2 separate regions of the Homo sapiens genome follow, and region 1 is linked to region 2. Evidence: promoter capture Hi-C in human tissues and cell types (Jung and others, 2019). All regions are on one chromosome and are shown on one strand. The core of a region is centred on a gene start or on the middle of the fragment in contact, and the rest is flanking DNA. Distances in the headings are between cores, read along the strand shown. Region 1 overlaps ZNF224 (zinc finger protein 224). Region 2 holds the start of ZNF223 (zinc finger protein 223).

The links. The method cuts DNA at HindIII sites, captures the fragments that hold promoters and counts their contacts. A contact is called where the count stands out against the background at its distance.
Region 1: a fragment that was not itself captured here is called in contact with the fragment with the promoter of ZNF223 in region 2 in 1 of the 25 tissues and cell types used here (neural progenitor cells).

Annotation. Positions count from the first base shown.
Region 1 is chr19:44,104,569-44,109,589 of GRCh38, reverse strand. It overlaps ZNF224 (zinc finger protein 224), which reads right to left. Exons shown (of 6, transcript NM_001321645.3): 6 at 1-3,194. The coding sequence ends at 1,306. ZNF225-AS1 (ZNF225 and ZNF224 antisense RNA 1) reads left to right here. Exons shown (of 2, transcript NR_033341.1): 2 at 1,253-4,251. Among named protein-coding and RNA genes, the nearest start is that of ZNF225-AS1, 6.1 kb to the left of the region's middle. The HindIII fragment of the contact is 4,133 bases long and covers 110-4,242 here.
Region 2 is chr19:44,050,240-44,055,653 of GRCh38, reverse strand. ZNF223 (zinc finger protein 223) reads right to left here and starts at 3,618. Exons shown (of 5, transcript NM_013361.6): 1 at 3,459-3,618; 2 at 463-545. The coding sequence starts at 477. RefSeq lists enhancers at 3,392-3,631, 3,451-3,952 and a silencer at 3,672-3,731. The HindIII fragment of the contact is 19,838 bases long and covers 1-5,414 here.

The sequences.
Region 1 (5,021 bases), core at 927-3,426, 55 kb before region 2:
TCCTATCCTATGGTTTTCATATCAAACAGTTGCACCTTATACATTCTGGCATGTTCTGCTCTCCAAAAGACATATTTTTACTGCCAGCAATAAAGAGGAGGATTTAAATGTTACTCCTGCCCCCAATAATGAATATATTTGATGAAATTACCAAACTCCATTTTCTCTTCCTGTTTCATAGCGTTGGTGGAAGAATATTGGATAAGAAGGTTGACAAAAGCTGTCATTCAAATTTAGAATATTTTATACCAGAGAAGTTAAAAAAAAAAAAGAAATTGTACAGCAATTAAAAGGCAATCATACCAAGGCCTGCATAGAAATCACAAATCATGATCAATCTAGGATTGACTAAGAAAATTTCTGTCAATGTACATCTGGCACTTTAAAAGTGTTACTGTAAATCTTGCCTTAATACTGTTGAAAACACTTAATTGTGAAATATGCAGTGGTCTGTTATTGCAAAATTAACCAAACCTTTTCAGTCTATACTGTGAGAAAAACTACAAAAGATAATTAAATTTATACCGTATACAAGCAATGGACATTTCATAGAGCCACAAATAATACTCTGACTTCAGAGCACAGGATGGGGGGAAGCCAGGAGCCAAGTGCAATAAAATAATGTTCAATGAATATGATAAATCTGATCAAGAAAAAAATTTAAAAGAAAAAATAATAATATGCAAAATATTGCTATGGATTGCAGTACTGAGTTTACTCTGCATTTCAACTCATGTTTCCCAGAATTATTTTTTGCAGGCTTCCCTTTTTGGATACACAAAATTGTATCCAAATCCATACATATGTTTTATCCTTTCATTGATTTAACAAACAAGTACTGAACACATACAAAGTGCTAATCAATGTTAAGGCTGTGACGACTTAGCAGCAAAGACACATGTAGTTTACATTCTAGTGGACATCAATTTGGACATGTCCACCATTAGTCTGGTAAATTCATGAACTCTTACTCTTTCTAAGGCCTGTCTCCTGAATGATAGCTGTAATTATCAAACTTCTGAATGAAGCTTTATTGCACCATTTACAAGGATTCTCCATTATGGTGGTCCTGAGACTACTGGGGCATGCTGAGCTATGGCTGAAGCACTGATGTTATCTTAAACAAATGTTTTCCCTCTTCCAAGAATGGGTGAAATTTATCACCAGCATGGATTCAGAGATAAAATACTCAAAGGGAAGTGCTTACTATGTGCCTCATATTTTAATGTGTCTCTCCTTTGTGAACTTTCAGATGAGACTGCATTCATGAAGACTGAGTGAAGACTTTATTGCACCATCACATCACTAAGGTTTTTCTCCAACATGAACATTCTGATGAAGTCGAAGGCTTGAGGCCTGACTAAAGCACATATCACACTCCCTACACTTCCATGTTTTCTCTCCCATGTGGACCCTCTGATGCATATCAAGATTCAAGCGCCTGTTGTAGCCCTTCCCACAGTCCTCACATTTGTATGGCTTTTCTACACTGTGAACTTTTTCTTGCACTTTAGAGAATGAATTCTGTACAATGTTCTTCCCATGCTGCTCACATTTGAGAGGTGTTTCTCTGCTGTGGCGTCTCTGATGGGTCAGACGAGTTGAGGACCAGCTGAAGCCCTTCCCACACTCATCACATTTGTATGGCTTTTCTCCAGTGTGCACTCTTTGATGAGAATGAAGCTGTGAATTCTGAGTAAATCTTTTCCCACACTCTTCACATTTGAATGGTTTTTCTCCACTGTGCAGTCTCTGATGTTTCAAAAGACACGAGGCCCAGCCAAAACTCTTCCCACATTCCTTACAATTGTATGGTCTCTCTCCTGTGTGGACCTTCTGGTGCATATCAAGATTAAACTTACTATTGTAGCCCTTTCCACACTTCTCACATTTGTATGGCTTTTCTCCAGTGTGAACTCTCTGATGGGAATGAAGATGTGAATTTTGAGTAAATCTCTTCCCACACTCTTCACATTGGAATGGTTTTTCTCCACTGTGGAGTCTCTCATGTTTCAAAAGACATGGGGCCCGACTAAAGCTCTTCCCACATTCCTTACAATTATACAGTTTCTCTCCTGTATGGACGCGCTGGTGAAAGTCAAGATCCAACCTCCTTTTGTAGCCCTTCCCACACTCCACACATTTGTATGGTTTTTCTCCACTATGGGATCTCTGGTGGGAATAGCATTGTGAATTTGTGTAAAATCCTTTCCCACATTCTTCACATTTGAATGGTTTTTCTCCACTGTGGACTCGCTGATGTTTCAAAAGACACGAGGCCCATCTGAAGCTCTTCCCACACTCTTTACAATTATATGGCTTTTCTCCCGTGTGGACCATATGATGCGTATAAAGATCTCGCCTACAAATAAAGCCTTTTCCACACTCCTCACATTTGTATGGTTTCTCTCCTGTGTGGATCATGCGATGACTATTAAGTGCTGATCTCTGACGAAAGCTCTTATCACACGTATCACATCGGAATGGTTTCTCTGCCGTGTGAACCATGGAATGCCTATTAAGTCTTGATCTACCACAGAAGCTCTTACCACATATATCACATTTGAATGGCTTCTCCCCCGTATGGATTCTCTGATGTTCTTGAAGCTGGGAATCGTGAATGAAGGCCTTCCCGCATTCCTCACAATTATAAGGTTTCTCTCCTGTGTGTAATTTATGATGAACATTAAGTGCTGATCTACGACTGAAGCCTTTCCCACATTCCACACATTTGAACGGTTTCTCTCCAGTGTGGACTCTCTGATGAGTTTGCAGATGTGAACTCTGACTGAATTCCTTACCACACACGTCACACTTATAGCATTTCTCTCCCATGTGGACTCTCTGATGAATACGAAGGGCTGAGATGTAACAAAAGTTCTTTCCACACTCATCACACGTATGAGATTTCTCTCCTGAGTGTAATTGTTGATGAAAATCAAAGTGGGAGACATCACTGAAGGATGGTTTATATCCATTGCCCTGGGAAGATTTCTGTCTTGTGTGAATTACAGATAGTCCTGCCTCAGTCTGGCAGGGGAAATCACCTTCTTTGGAGAACTGAGAGCTATTTATCATCAAGTCTTGAGACCTGGTTAAATCACTTGCAATTTTTTCCCAGATTTGCTGGAAGGACCACTCTTGATGTGTTCCTGCTTCTGAAACAGTCTCCATCTCAGTTTGGATCTTGTCTCCTATCAGAATACAGAATTAAAAGATGAGGACAAGTGAAGCCTTTGTTCAGTGTTATCAAGATTTCACTTAGGCCATGGCAGGAAACTCTCATGAGTATAGACAACATTCAGTTTGTATTTTTCAAGTGCACCATAATCTTTGGTTTGGATGAGGCCAATTTCGAACTAAACCAAGTATCATATGTAAAATACTTGATAGAAATAAAAGACGAAAAACAATAGATGTTGACATGGGTGTGGTGAGAAGAAACGCTTATACACTGCTGCTGGTGTGAATGTAAATTAGTACAACCTCTATGAAATACAGTATGGAGATTCTCTAAAGAACTAAAAGTGGATCTACCATTTGATCCAGCAATCCCACTACTATCTACCCAAAGGAAAAGAAGTCCTTACATCAAAAGGACACCTGCATGCCTATATTTATTACAGCACAATTCACAATTTCAAAGATATGGAACCAACCTAAGTGCCCATCAACCAATGAGTGGATAAAGAAAATATGGTATATATTCACCAGGGAATACTATTCAGCCATAAAAAAATGAAATAATGTCTTTTGCAGCAACTTGGATGGAGCTGGAGGCTATTATTCTAAGTGAAGTAACTCAGGAATGGAAAACCAAATACCGTGTTTTCACTTATAAGTGGGAGTTAAGCTATGGGTATGCAAAGGCATACAGAGTGATATAATGGACTATGGAGACTCAAAATGGGGAGGGTGGAAGGTAGGGTAAGGGATAAAAAGCTACAAGTTGGGTACAATGTACACTACTCAGGTGATGGGTACACTAAAATCTCAGACTTCACCATTAGACAATTCAACCATGTAACCAAAAACCAGTATATACTTTAATAAAAAAAGACTACTGAAATAAAATTTTTAATAAAAATAAAAGACAATAATAAAATTAATATGATACAAACATTATACCTGCTACTCTTCCTAGTGAATTTCCTAATCAGTCTAAAATCTTGCATGGTAAATTATGAAGCTAATAAATTGTGTATATAATAAAATATGAATCAAAACCAATTTTAAACAAAAGTAATATAATCAAGACTTGGTACATTTGTGTTTATATTGTGTATCCTTACAAAGTAAAGATATTAACCTTACTCAAAATGAGGTCTAGATGTTTTCCTCAGGATCTGAGAGGTAATGTCTAGGAGTTTATGCCTGAGGAGAGTGTCTTTGTTTGCTTGAGAGTAAAACTAGGTCACTGGAAAGTGAAACAATATGATTTAGGGTTGTAGCTGGCCACGCCTTTGGGGGTCGGTGCCCCCTATGTCACAAAGAGCAACGTGATTTAAGGTGAGGCTTTAGGTTACATGGAATCAGTGGCCCAGGAGACTGACTAGCCACATGGGAATCAATCAACAAATAATGGCTATGTAATGGAGCCTCAAAAATTACTTGTAAAACCAGGGCTCGGCTGGGCGCGGTGGCTCACGCCTGTAATCCCAGCACTTCGGGAGGCCGAAGCGGGCAGATCACGAGGTCAGGAGATCGAGACCATCCTGGCTAACATGGTGAAACACCATCTCTACTAAAAATACAAAAAAATTAGCCAGACATGGTGGCGGGCGCCTGTAGTCCCAGCTACTCGGGAGGCTGAGGCAGGAGAATGGCAAGAACCCAGGAGTTGGAGCTTGCAGTGAGCTGAGATTGCGCCACTGCACTCCAGCCTGGGTGACAGAGCGAGACTCCGTCTCAAAAAAAAAAAAAATACAGGGCTCAGGTGAGCTTCCCTGATTCGCTGTACCCTCTACGTCACACCTTAATTCTGGGAATTTAACGCATCCTACTCTATGGGGAGAATACAA
Region 2 (5,414 bases), core at 2,369-4,868:
GGGATTACAGGCATGTACCACCATGCCCAGTTAATTTTGTATTTTTAGTAGAGATGGGGTTTCTCCATGTTGGTCAGACTGGTCTCGAACTCCTGACCTCAGGTGATCCGCCTGCCTCAGCCTCCCAAAGTGCTGGGATTACCAGTGTGAGCCACTGCACCCAGCCCAGTATTACTAGCCATTTTAAATGAAGGCTTTCTGGCTGGGTGCGGTGGCTCACGCCTATAATCCCAGCACTTTGGGAGGCCGAGGCGGGCAGATCACTTGAGGTCAGAAGTTCGATACAAGCCTGGCCAACATGATGAAACCCCATCTCCACTAATACTACAAAAATTAGCCAGGTGACAAGAGATCCTCAAAGTCCTGCTGTTCTCCTTGAGTCTTCCCAGGGCAGAGAAAAACACACAACAATCTGAGTAGTGAGATGGAATTTTAACAGTAAGAGAGGCAAGTCCTACTTACCTTGGACATGGTCATTTTTCCTCCTACTTTAGGGAATTTGCAGAGTCCTGAATGACACAGTTCCAGGGAAAGCAGAATTGTGCCTGGAAAGTGCCATGAAGACAGAAAAAGAGACATGAAAGGGTGGCCAGGGATGTCACCCACCAACAAGGACTCATATTGTCAATTAGCACATGAACGCTCACAGCAGCATTATTCATACTAACCCCAAATTGCACACAACCAAAAAGCTCTCCTACAGGTAAAGGGACAGAAAAATTGTGGCATATTCATACAATGGAATCTTATTTGGAAATGTAAAGGAATGAAATACTGACCCATGCAACAACACCCGTGAACCTTGAAAACATTACAGTAAATGAAAGAAGCAAGTCACAAAAACCCACAGACCCTACGATTCCATTTATATGAAATGTCTGGAATAGACAAGTAGAATAGAATAGAAAGTAGGTTAGCAGTTGTTCTAAATTTGAGTTGAGAATGAGGTTCAAAGTAAATGGGCATGAGGAGTCCAACTGGGGGATGAAAGTGATCTCGGCTGAATTATGATGATGATTACCCCACTTCAAAGTTCCTAAAGACCACTGAACTGACTTGTATACCTGAAATGGGTGAATGCTATAACTAAAATAAACCTAGAGTTTAAAAAAAAAACTGTTAATGCACATATCATTAGAATCAATAAGACTGGATTCTGAGTCCACATTGATAGAATATTTATAGTTGAACAAATCAATGAACCAATAGAGGAGAAATGGAAGCTCTTTTTTACAAGAAAATGCCCACTAATAATGTATTTTCCCATAAGAAACTTCATAATTTAAAAAAAAGTAACATAAGAGTGGAAAAATCTGAAAGACATCTTCTTGGCCAGTGACAAAGCTGAGATCACCAATGAAGGGACAAACGAACATCACTTGGACCTTGTTATGTTACAATGAAAAGGGCATCCTATTGCACCATTGTACCCCAGCCTGGGTGACAAGAGCAAAACTGTCTCAAACAAAAAAAAAAAAAAAGAAAAGGGCATCTTAACACTCCTGTGGAATCCCCACCAACAATGTATAATCTAAACCTAAATGTGAAATATATCTGTAGGGGAAAGAAAAAGAGATCAGGCTGTTACTGTGTCTACGTAGAAAAAGGAAGACATGAGAAACTCCATTTTGATCTGTACTAAGAAAAATTCTTCTGCCTTGAGATGCTGTTAATCTGTAACCCTAGCCCCAACCCTGTGCTCGCAGAAACATGTGTTGTATTGACTCAAGGTTTAATGGATTTAGGGCTGTGCAGGATGTGCTTTGGTAAAAATGTGTTTGCAGGCAGTATGCTTGGTAAAAGTCATTGCCATTCTCCAGTCTCGATTAACCAGGGACACCATACACTGCGGAAGGCCACAGGGACCTCTGCCCAAGAAAGCCTGGGCATTGTCCAAGGTTTCCACCCACTGAGACAGCCTGAGAGATGGCCTCGTGGGAAGGGAAAGACCTGACCGTCCCCCAGCCCGACACCCATAAGGGGTCTGTGCTGAGGAGGATTAGTGAAAGAGGAAGGCCTCTTTGCAGTTGAGGTAAGAGGAAGGCATCTGTCTCCTGCTCATCCCTGGGAATGGAATGTCTCGGTATAAAACCCAATCGTACATTCTATTTACTGAGATAGGAGAAAACCGCCTTATGGCTGGAGGTGAGACATACTGGCGGCAATACTGGTCTTTACTGCACTGAGATGTTTGTGTAAAGTCACACATAAATCTGGCCTATGTGCACATCCAGGCACAACTCCTTTCCTTAAACTTATTTATGACAGAGTCCTTTGCTCACATGTTTTCCGGCTGACCCTCTCCCCACCATTACCCTATAGTCCTTCCACATCCCCCTCACCAAGATAGTAGAGATAGTGATCAATAAATACTGAGGGAACTCAGAGACCAGTGCCGGTACAGGTCCTCATTTGCTGAGCGCCGGTCCCCTGGGCCCACTTTTCTTCCTCTATACTTTGTGTCTGTGTCTTATTTCTTTTCTCAGTTTCTCATTTCCACCTTGTGAGAAACACCCACAGGTGTGGAGAGGCAGGCCCCCTTCAATATCAAACTCCAAATGAACAACTATGGAAATGTGACAGCTAAAGACAACGCATAAACTGGACTTTGAATAGGTGAAGGGTGGGGCAGAGGACAGTCATAAGGACTTTAAATGAAAAATTTAACAAATTCGTATATGGAACTGCAGATTAGATAACATGATGCTAGGTAATATGCTATCCAACACTATCTAGTAAGTACACTACAAATACTAGTATTCTTTTAACACATCTATCTGACATGTAATCGGTAACAGTATTATTTAACATAATATCCAATATTATCTACCATGTTATGTGAAACCCTATAACCAGCCCTTCCTAAATGCCTCTTACCAAGACACCCCACAATTACCGTGGTATGTGGGCTTCCTTGCTGCAGAAAGCTACCAATCAGCTGTCTCTGGTTACAGGTATGTTCCTGGTGGTATTTGGTTGATGGTCATCAACAAAGCAAACAGGAAAAATGTAAACACTTGGCAAATTTGGGTAAAGGGTATATGAGAATTTCTTATACTGTTTTTGCAATTTTTCTATAGCTTTGAAATGATATCAAACGTTTTAAAATATCAGGCAACAAGAGACCACTCACCAAGTGACAGGGACAACTTTAAGGCTTTCATTTGTATTATCTCTTTCAATTCGCAAAACAATTCTATTAGGATGACCCTATAAGCACCATTTTAAAGAACAGCAATGGGAAGTACAGAGACATTAACATTCCACATCACACTGCGAGAAAGAGTGTACACACTGCATACGTAGGGAGGCGGACTGAGCGAGGTCAAAGTCCTGGAAACCCTCAGAGCAGGGCACACAAGGCCACCCCAATCCCACCCCCCGGGAGGCGAGCAAAGCCCCCCGACGCCAGAAGGCTCCGCTGACGGGAACAATAAACACCCTCCCCGCCCTCGCACCTCTAAACCTCTGCTCTTCGCCAAGGCTTCTTTTCCCCTGAGACGATCATCGATCATCGGGTGGTTGCGAGCCTCAAGCAAAGGGGGTTCGTTCAAAATGTCCTGCAAGACGCAGAAATGGCTCAAACTACCCCGGTCATTAAAGCAGGAACCTCAGACTAGGAGACCGGAAGTGTCCTCTCTGCGCCAGAGTGTCTGGACTCCACTCCCCAGAATTCCCCGGACCCGCCCCCCTGAGCCAAAGGGCCCGGGACTCCGCAGAGTGTCTGGACTATCGTTCCCAGAATTCAACGGTTCACCTGCCAGAGCCAAAATACCCAGTGTTCCACGAGCCAGTGGACTACACTTCCCGTAAAATGGACTACTCTTCCCAGAATTCTCCGGAAACGCCTACCTGAGCTGAAGTATCAGGAATCCCGCAAGGTGTCTGGACTGCAGAGCCTCAGATGCAAAAGGAAAATGTCCATCACCTCACCCTTTAGGCTCAAGTGTTGCGACTACATGGTGCTCCTCGATTACACTTCCCGCAACACCCACGGGGAACGAATTTCATAGCCCCAGGTTCCTGGTGGGGAATGCAGACTGTTACCCTGACAGTTGTCCTTCCCAGAGTCCTCGAGCGAAAATATTGAATAGAAAGAATTTATGAAGTCTAAATGTCTCCCATGATTGACAGGAGTGTTCTTGGACAGGGAACAAGCGAGGAGATACAATATTCAAGGAGCTAGATAGAGTGACTGTTGAGCCGTCAGATGGCTGAAAGGAGGCTCAGGGTTTAAAGCAAGGATATCCAACTCCAGGGCCACAGACCTGTACCGGTCCACTGACTGTTAGGAACCGGGCGGCACAGCAGGAAGTGAGCGGCAGGTGAGGGAGCATTATGGCCTGAGCTCCACCTCCTGTGAGATCAGCCCAGCATTACATTCTCATAGGAGCGCGGATCCTATTGTGAACTGTGCGTGCGAAGGATCTAGGTCAGGCGCTCCTTATGAGAATCTAATGGCTGAGGTGGAACAGTTTCATCCCGAAACCATTCCCCAGTCCGTGGAAAAATTGTCTTCCACAAAACCGGTCCATGGTGCTAAAACGGTTGGGGACCACTGGTTTAAAGAATGAGCCAGGTAGAATGGGTTGGGAGGGGCAATGAGAAGCCAGGAAAGCATCAGCCCCTGTAACTGAAAAGTAGATCAGTGGCTTCCCGTTTGCAACGTCCAGTTAACAAGAGGGAGATCTGGTATAAAGAAAGTGATTTATTCTAGAGCTAGCGTAGGGGAAGTAGCACAGGTGTTGTCTTTAAGTGCACGGCTTGGCTTTTAGAGCAGAAAGCAGGCACTTTTAAAAGGTAGGGGAGGAAGAGGGAAGGGGTCTGTGTGCTGGCTTGGTGCCTTATCTATTAGGCAGTTGAGCTGGCTTTTTCATGGGCAGAAATAAGTTGTAACCAGAAGGGAGAGAGTAGCAGGCACGCTTTCAACTGTTGTCTCTTCAGGCAACCTCCTGGTGAGTGAGAGTTCAGAGGCCAGCATGCTTTAGTTTGTAAATTGACTGTTAATTCTGGAGGAGAGTTCTGGCTTGGAGCACACAGTTAGATGAACTTTCCCTGTAGGAAGTGTCTGGTGAAGGGGAGGTAAAAGTCTATATTTGCATTTTTAAAGGGCTACATAGGAAGTGGGGAACTAAGGGAATGAGAAAAGAGAGAGAAATAAATAAGCTGTCTCTTAGAAAAATGGTGGTTCTCAGTTACAGCCCTAGTCCAGATGCTGTGGTACCACTGGTTTGACAGGAAAAACAAAATTCCAGCCACCAATGGAGAAGCTGTGTCCTCATGGAAAAGCTACATTTAACATTCTCATGGTAGTAATATTTCTACTTTAGATGTAGAAACGCTAAATTTCAGAGAAGTTAGTGAATTGCTAAGTATCTTAAAGCAAGTATAACTGTTGAAGAGCTTGGCATTGG